3 separate regions of the Homo sapiens genome follow, and all the other regions are linked to region 2. The links are contacts of gene promoters, found by promoter capture Hi-C in human tissues and cell types (Jung and others, 2019). All regions are on one chromosome and are shown on one strand. The core of a region is centred on a gene start or on the middle of the fragment in contact, and the rest is flanking DNA. Distances in the headings are between cores, read along the strand shown.

Evidence for each region. The method cuts DNA at HindIII sites, captures the fragments that hold promoters and counts their contacts. A contact is called where the count stands out against the background at its distance.
Region 1: a contact is called between a fragment that was not itself captured here and the fragment with the promoter of EIF3H in region 2, in 1 of the 25 tissues and cell types used here (dorsolateral prefrontal cortex).
Region 3: a fragment that was not itself captured here is called in contact with the fragment with the promoter of EIF3H in region 2 in 1 of the 25 tissues and cell types used here (dorsolateral prefrontal cortex).

The regions. Positions count from the first base shown.
Region 1 is chr8:115,640,140-115,643,099 of GRCh38, reverse strand. All of the region lies in intron 1 of TRPS1 (transcriptional repressor GATA binding 1), which reads left to right. Among named protein-coding and RNA genes, the nearest start is that of TRPS1, 27 kb to the left of the region's middle. The HindIII fragment of the contact is 5,413 bases long and covers 1-2,960 here.
Region 2 is chr8:116,754,498-116,757,422 of GRCh38, reverse strand. EIF3H (eukaryotic translation initiation factor 3 subunit H) reads left to right here and starts at 1,600. Exons shown (of 8, transcript NM_003756.3): 1 at 1,600-1,757. The coding sequence starts at 1,626. The HindIII fragment of the contact is 13,175 bases long and covers 1-1,951 here.
Region 3 is chr8:115,466,369-115,469,310 of GRCh38, reverse strand. All of the region lies in intron 5 of TRPS1 (transcriptional repressor GATA binding 1), which reads left to right. Among named protein-coding and RNA genes, the nearest start is that of TRPS1-AS1, 42 kb to the left of the region's middle. The HindIII fragment of the contact is 5,538 bases long and covers 1-2,942 here.

The DNA.
Region 1 (2,960 bases), core at 10-2,509, 1.1 Mb after region 2:
AATAAAGAATGTTTTTAACTAAGTGTATTTTTTAAACATAATACTATTGCCCACTTAATAGACCATTGTGTAATGTAAATGTAGCTTTTATATGCACTGGGAAACCAAAATATTCTTGTGACTTGCTTTATTGCAATATTCACTTTATTTTAGTAGTCTCAAACTGAATCTGTAGTATCTCCGAGGTGTAGTATCTCCGAGGTGTTATATATATATAACGTTAAATATATATATTTATATATATATATATTTTTTTTCACGAAGTAAGCATGCTTTTATTATCAGATAAAAACATTAACCAAATATGTCTTTTTGGGGAATAATAAAAATGATTAAACTTACTAATGTTTTTGCTGGGGTTAGATTATCAAAGCATTTTTTTAAACACTGACACAGTCATTCATATTTTCTAGGAGAAATTACCATGCACCTTTGGAGTCATTTTTTGATAGAAAAGGTGTCCCTAATTGAGAGTACCAATTTTAAATTTTTGTTGGCAGGTGCTGCTATTGAATTGTATTTGGATTATAAAATTCACAAGTTTCATAATTGGAGGCTTATGGAGTGTATTGATGAGATGATTAGAATTACTCTTTTGGTTATGTAAGTTTTTAAATAATGGAAGAAGTTCTAGAAATCATACAAAAATTTCCAAAATAAGACTTTCAGAGGCTGTGAATGATACTGATTTTCTGTCATCTTTGTCATTTAAACACAGTTCTGTATTATTTTTTTGCTCAGCAATAAAGGAGTCAGTAGGTCCATCTGTGTGTTTCTGTTGGATTCATATCGGATATATGACTATTATGTATGTAGTGTCTTGAATGTGTATGTGTGTATATATATATATACACACAGGTTTCTTTTCTTTTTTTTTTCTTTTTTTGAGATAGGGTCTTGCTGTGTTGCCCAGGCTGGTGTCCTGTGGTGCGATCATAGCTCTCTGTAGCCTTGAACTCTTGGGCGCAAGGGCTCTTCCAGCCTCAGCCTCCTAAATAGCTGGGACTACAGGCACAAGCCATCATGCCTTTGCTAATTTTCTAATTTTTTGTAAAGACGGAGTCTTGCTGTATTTTCCAGGCTGGTCCTGAACTCCTGGCCTCAAGGAATTCTTCCCATCTCAGTCTCCCAAAGTGCTGGGATTACACATATATTTTAGACTTTGGAAATTAGGAAAACTGAAAATGGAGTTTTGTTTTGTTTTGTTTTGTTTTGTTTTCGAGACGGAGACTCATTCTGTCACTCAGGCTGGAGTGCAATGGTGCAATCTTGGCTCATTGCAACCTCCGCCTCCCAGGTTCAAGTGATTCTCCTGCCTTAGCCTCCCGAGTAGCTGAGACTACAGGCATGCGCCACCATGCTCAGCTAATTTTTTGTACTTTAGTAGAGATGGGGTTTCACCATGTTGGCCAGGGTGATCTCGAACTCCTGACCTCAGGTGATCCACCTGCCCTGGCCTCCCAAATGAAAATGGAGTTTTCATTTCCATATATCACAGTTGTTTTTCAATATAGGTCTTCAGTGACTGGAAGCCATTGCTATAGGCTGGTAATTTGATAACCCATTTTTGAAATGTATTTATTGAGCTCATTGTAATTCAGTATGCCTCTGGTGAAAGGCGTGGGATGGTATAGGTTGAAAGAATAATCTGTGGTTGTTCCCTACAGAGACGCTGCTGCCCCTTTTTGGGCAGTCATCTTTAACCTGGCACCCACTAGTGTATTTGCTAAAATGGAATATTCCAAAATTTAAATGATGTCACATTTGAAAGCAATGCCAAGAAACAATGCGGCAGTTTCTAAATTTTGTGAAGCTAAAATCCCTGGTTACAAGAAAGAGTACATGTCACAGATGAGTAGTTAGTAATGACTTCAGTTTAGCAGGAAAAGAGCAATTCCCATATGCTGATTCTAGTCTCATAACAAAGAATGTTATAGAAAGATTGCACAGTATTTAACAAGCTGTGAGTTAATGTGACAGTGTCGGTGTATCTAGTTCCAGAAGGATAATCACTTTACCATATTTCTTCAAAAATATTTTAAGTTATATTCCAAAACAGAAAACCAGATACATATGAATCCAGACTGTTCCCTGCAACACCTCCCCACCCCCAAGTTAGGTAGTAAAATCAGGTTTAAGCAATTGAATTGCTTCCGACCTGCTGGCTGCCAAATACCTGAATAAATGTAGAAGTTCCATTGTCAGACTCTGAACCTCAGAGGCTTACCTGTTATATAAGGGAGAGTGGGTATAAATGAGAGTGTTACATCTTGAACTGTAATTATCCAAAACTTAGTTTTCAGCGCTTCAGTTTACCTCTAACCAAGAGCCTCTCCTAATTTGAACATAGACTACGCCCTTCAACACTTACGGATACGTTAGGAGTTGAGAAAATTAGGTAAAGTTGTATTGCTTTCAGTCCTTTGGAACACATACTGGATACAGGCATTGGTACTGTAGGTGTGTTAGTTACCAGCAATTCATTTCCAGGGTTTTTCCCAAAGACCTGCTGTTTTATGCGTGTTCATATTAGTACTATGATTTGCTTATTCCTGTGAACACGAACAACACTGACAGATAACAGTTTTGAACAGTAGACCTGTGTCTTTTAAAAGCTTAAAACTCCATGCACATCATTTTGTCGTTGCAAAGACTTCTAAAGGCAGGCATGGGGAGGCATTGTGGAGTAGGGAGAGGATATTATGTCCTTCAGTGATTTAAGGAAATGCATGTTTTCCATCATGAAAGAAAAGATAATCATTATCAAATTCAGAGGAGATTGTTTTATCATTCCCATAATGAACCTGTGTCTCTTTTACCAATTAACATATAGATGGATATTAGGAGAAACCAGGTTCAGGTAGAAAGAGGTACATAAAATTAATAATCCATCACGAGGAATTTCTGCAAAGTGCCTTTTATAGAGAATTTTTTTTCTTGGAAATTTTTGAAATTATCAA
Region 2 (2,925 bases), core at 351-2,850:
AAGGAGGTAGCCAGTGAGATAGGAATGAAATTAGGAACCGAAGTGACGGAAATGTCAATGCTTCTGGGCCCTTTCTTGTCAAGGTGATCATATTGATTTCTAATTCAAATTCTTCATATTCTCTGGCCCTCTCTCTCTCTCTCTCTCAGTTGTACCTCTTACATCTAGTGTATTTCATAAAGAGGGCCCACATGAACTGTCTCAGGACAGATGAAAATAACCCATTGTAGTATGTTTAGCACACGTGGCTGCAAAACCTTAGTTGGATATTTTCAAGGACAAAAAAATTGCAAAATATTTTAAACTTTACTTTGTAGTTTTACTGCTATGAGGATATTGGTATTGTAATTCTGAAACAAAACTGTGTTATGTATGTTGTAGGATAAAGCAATAAATAAATGTATTATTGTTTATAAGTAGCCTCACTGTTTTCTAATGCTCATCATTCCAGCTACCTAGTGGTAGGCAAAAACCTCCAGTCTGGTTCTTCCATGCGAGATTTTCTTTCTTCTTTTTGTGAATGTTCTGTTACCAATTTCTAGTGTAATTTTACCAGGATCAACCTTTAAAACCTCTAAATTTGTGGACTTTCTGTGTGACCTAGGGTTTGGTGTATTTTAATAAATATTTCATATACACTTGAAATGAGTGGATATTAACTTTTCATTTTGTAGTGTTAAGAATTTGTAACATGTAACTATTTCTCCTCCCAGATTGAAATATAACACCAGATCCCAATGACAAAACAACAAAAAACTTCAGGGCAGGATATGCCGTTTATTGATTTAATTATTTCATCAGTTCTGTATACATATTTATTGAATAAACATTTCAAAAATAAGGGATAGGAAAAAAGTCATTTGGAAGTAGAAAAGAATGTTTCAAATTACTTATCTAAAATGGCTTCTTACAGTTGTCATATATTCTTTTAAGGACTTGAGATGTGTATTTCAGAGTAATGTGTCATAAATCAGCGTGATTTTTAGAAAATATATTCTGTATCATCCTTCAACAATACCTCAGATAACTTCTTTGGTACTTTACTCAGGTAAATCTCTACATGAAGCTAATAGCAAAAGGCTACTATTTCTGGTAATTCTGATAAAAGTTTCTATGTCTTAATTTCTATATAATCTAAGTGGTTACAAGCAGCTATCTAAAATTACGTAAAACAAGCTGTGCAATACTGGCTCATCGCTAATTAACAGAATAATGTCGGACAAATCACTTATCAGTTTTCTAATATGCATAATGCGAGTTAGTACAGCACTTCATTGCAAGATCAGAAATGAAAGCATTTTTACATAAGAGACACTACAGAAATAATGCGAACTGTAATGCTATTATGACGGTTTGCCTAGTGGTGAATGATTAAACATTTAAAAAGTTTACTTTCATCTTAGATCATTCCATCGGAAAGAGGTCGAAAATGTACAGTAGGCATGCACAAAGGATACCGCCTGGAAAGAAGGTAAAACTGGAAAACAGGAGGGAGGCGGGGCCCAATTTTGGCTTCTCCTTCCGTCTCCGCCCCTCGAACGCCGGCCTGCGAGTGACGTCACGCGAGACTTGTACTTCCGCTTCCGGTAACTCACGTTTCTCTTTCTTCCTGTCTGCTTGGAAAGATGGCGTCCCGCAAGGAAGGTACCGGCTCTACTGCCACCTCTTCCAGCTCCACCGCCGGCGCAGCAGGGAAAGGCAAAGGCAAAGGCGGCTCGGGAGATTCAGCCGTGAAGCAAGTGCAGATAGATGGCCTTGTGAGTGCTGTTCTTTTTCCTCTGGCCCACGTGGGGAGCGCAGTTCCCAGCCCCGTCCCACCAGACGTACTTTCTAGCATTCTCCCCCTTGGGCTTGGTGTGGCTGGGCCAAAGTTTTTCCCTAGTACGTTTCTCTTTCATCTTCACTTTTTGTTCAGGAGCTTCGACAGCCTTCTCTTGTCTTCTAACGGGACAGTTGGGGCTTCAGGAAGGGGACTGAGAATAGGGGTGTGAGTGACAGGTTCCTGGGGTCTTGTTTTGAGATGACCGGTGGGGGGATTTGAAGAAAGACTCCTGGAGACCAGCAGCTAACGAAGGTGTCGAGAAGGATTTAGGGACCTAGTAGGGCTCTGGGAAGGAGAGAGTAAGGAAACTCCACTGATTCCCTGCTGGGATCTGACATCTATAACGTTCCAAGTGGAGATGTACTTTGTAGCCACTCTTTTGAGCCTGTACTTCGGCGCTTTATCTGAAACCGTATAATTTAGAATACTCTTTTGTAGTGTTCATTCTGAAAAACATAAAAGAATATCAAAGAGAAGGGCCTTAAATGTATTTAGTAGTTAAGGTTCATGAACTAGGACATCCAAGGAAATTCTTGATAAGGAAATGGACTTAGCTGGGAAGAGGAAAATCTAGAATGAGAAATTTTATTTCTGTTGTTTCGAAGCAAAATGCATTTATATGACGTTCTAGTTTTAAAAGTATCCTTCCTGCCCTCTTTTTAAAAAGCATCCTCTCTTCCTTTGATTTTTTTAAAGGTTATTTCCTATTAATGCAGATCTTAGATATTTGTAATAAGAAAGTACTTTTAAATTCATGTGAAAATTGTAATTGCAAGCAGGTATTTTTAAGTGGAAACTGTTGATAATTTAAACGCAGCATATAATTGAATCTGTTGAACTGACTTAGTTAAACTGGATACAAGAGTGTAGCCTGGTGGTTAAGAGCTCATTCAGTCTTCTAGGCTCTTCCACTTAACCAGCTCTGTGACTTTAAGGCAAGTTAGCCTTTCCAGGCTTTGCTTTCCTCATCTGTCAAGTGGGAATGAGAAGTATCTGTATCATAGAGTTGTTTGGATTAAATGAAAAAGTTTATGTGGTGACCTGTAGTACAGTGTAATCACTTAATGTTAATTATGATTATTATTATGAGTTTAATGTCTGTG
Region 3 (2,942 bases), core at 181-2,680, 1.3 Mb after region 2:
GCACAGTATCTGTTCATGCTATTGCTGCCAAACATATTGCAGATCAAGGAGCCTGTTATGCAACTGTGAATAAGAATCTTAGGCCACTTCACACTGTTTCATCTTGTCAATTGGGAGTTTTGTTTGGTTCAGCATGTGTGTGTGTATGTTTTTGTTTTTGTTTTTGTTTTGAGACAGGGTCTTACTCTGTCACCCAGACTGGAATGCAGTGACAAGATAATGGCTTACTGCAGCCTCAACCTCCCAGGCTCAAGCAATCCTCTGGTTGAGCCTACGAAGTAGCTGGTACCACAGGTGTGTACCACCATGCCTGGATATTTTTAAATTAGTTTTGTAGAGACAGGGGTTTATCTATGTTGCCCAGACTGGTCTCAAACTCCTGGCCTCATATGATCTCTTGTCCTCAGTTCCCCAAAGTGTGGGGATTACAGGAGTGAGCCACCATGCCTGGCCTTAAATTCTGATGGCTTTTAGGCAAACAAGTAATGTACTATGTATATCCCTTTTTCAAAATGTATTATGAGTTCTGTAGCTTATAATTGCTTCCTGTGTGCATATATGCTTTGTGGAGGATTGGAGAAAACATCAGTATAACAAGCAGTTCACTTGTTTCTCGAAATGCTGTGCTGGTGAATTAGTCACTCTGTTCTACTCTTCAGGTTTTTTGTGTGTGTGTCTGCCATTGAGGAGTATAAAACTTTTTTCAAAGTCGTTTACATTTGGCTTTGGCAAGGGTTTTAATTGTTCATTGGAGAGTATCTGTAACCTGAAAATTCTTGAGACACGGTAACCACAGAGTTAATATGTGACTCACAAAAGGCTGGAAACTGCCTACTTTTTCCATCCTGTCCCTCTCATCAGTTTTGCTTCCACTTTATTCTGGGAGTTAATTTTTATCAACCTTCACACAGAAGTACTATTTGTTTGTTCATATATGCAAGGGAAATTATTTTTATTCCTAAAGCATTTCTCCCTCTTAAAATCCTGGATTAGATTAAGCAAATATCCCGTTTATGTAAATAAATCATTTAATTAAGCAGAATAGGTAAGGATGTCAGAAATAATAAAACAGATGATTTGTCAGAAATAAACTGTAGGGCATATGATCCTTTGAAGATAATTGAAAATTCACTATTTAAAAATATGAATTAAAAAATATATAGAACTTGATGAGTTACAGTTACATACATTACTATGCTATTCGTATTTCGGAAATTGAAACTCAGAAACAAAAGCAGTGCTCTAGTTTGTCATTCCTTATCAGTGAAGTGTGGAATAGTGGAATCTTCATGGGGAATTTCTGTAGGCACGAAAAATCTAGAAAACAAAGGCTGTGGAGGAGGCTGCCTCAGTCATTCTAATTGATGTCGTACAGCAGGACTACTCTTGGGTAACATCTCTGTTGTGCCCAAGGTTATGGAGATTTTCTTGCAGTCATAGGAAGAAGCTCAGGTTATGATCAACCTGGGGAGAAATGATTATACTCCTTCCTTAGATAGCAGAGAAGTTTGAGGTGTACTAGAAGTGTGGGGTTATTTACACAGTGAGCTAAGAGTAGTGATAAGAAATTTTATGTTCAGGACTGCTTTCTTATCCTATTGAACGTCAGTCTCATCCCCCTTAGTGACTTTATAGCTTGCTAGCTATCACATTCCATGTTATTCCCCTTATGTCTGTTAATGTCATTTCCAGTGCTATCCTTCTAGCCTATCCCTTTTTAAAAAATGTGTCTTATTCTCTGTCCTGGCTCCTGGACACTCATATCGCAATATAGGAAAGCCTAATAGGTAGAAATTCAAATCACAGAAAAGTTCAGAATAAATGAGCTTTATTTGGGTACAAAAGGCAAAATAGAGATACTGACTTTTTTTTTTTTTTTAACAAAAGGTCAAATTGCTTCCTTTAAAGAGCATCCTCCATTCACACCTCAGTACCACTGATTTCTTTCCAACACAGTGTTCCTGGAGCATTTTTAAATCATTGAGTGGGTTTTGCCATAAAGCTTACATTTGCCACTTGCCTTCCACAGGCCAGAGCTGCTTTTTTAAGCAGGAAAGGAAAAGGACACTGCCACTTCATATGACAGAATCAAGTAACTTGTAAATTGGAATGCATTTTTTTTTTGGTTCGCAATTTCCCCAAATTTTAAATAAATCAGTGTGCTCCTTCCCTTTACATAAATGATTTTTGTGAGAAACAAGAAGCTGTTCTAAGAATAACATTCAAAATTTCTTTAAGAAAATTCAAACCTTGCTTCCAAAACAGGCCTATGGTGAGATCGTACCAACCATTACAGGATAAGATTACAAAGAGAAAATTATTTTTATTCCATTCTGAGGGGATGTCTATTAAAGTAGCGCATAATTTCCAGAGCAGTTCTCTTGAGATTAACTTTTTTTTTTTAATGGCAAAATGAAGCAATGTAACATAATGCAAATCACACTACCATTACAAAAAGGAAATTAAAGTTGGGAGAATCTGTCAAAATATTATGAAAGTTGAGGAGTTAAAGTTTATTGCTTTATTTTTAGAATTTGCAAAGGTGTTCCACTGCAGAAATGCCTCTGGGCATTTGTAAAATGGGAGGGACATGAAAAGAGCAGTCCCTACTCAAATGGCTGTGTGTTAATTGAGCTCTTTGCCCCGCCCCCCTTCTCTTTTATCCTGCTCCCTCCTTACCCTGAAATCCCTAGTATTTCTAGATCCACAGCCAGTTTGTGTCTTAATGGGCTTTGTGATTTCAGAAGTTTCCTTCGACATAAGCTCTTCGGCATACTAATTGTTTCTCATGGAGAAACTATACTGTGTTTCATTCCAAGCCCTTCTTCACTTTACTGTAGAGTTTGCATTAAAGTTTCAGAAATACAATCAAGCTCTCTCTACATTTAGGGAAAGGAAATAAAGCACTTGCCTCAATTACATTTGTCAACAATTTCCTTTTC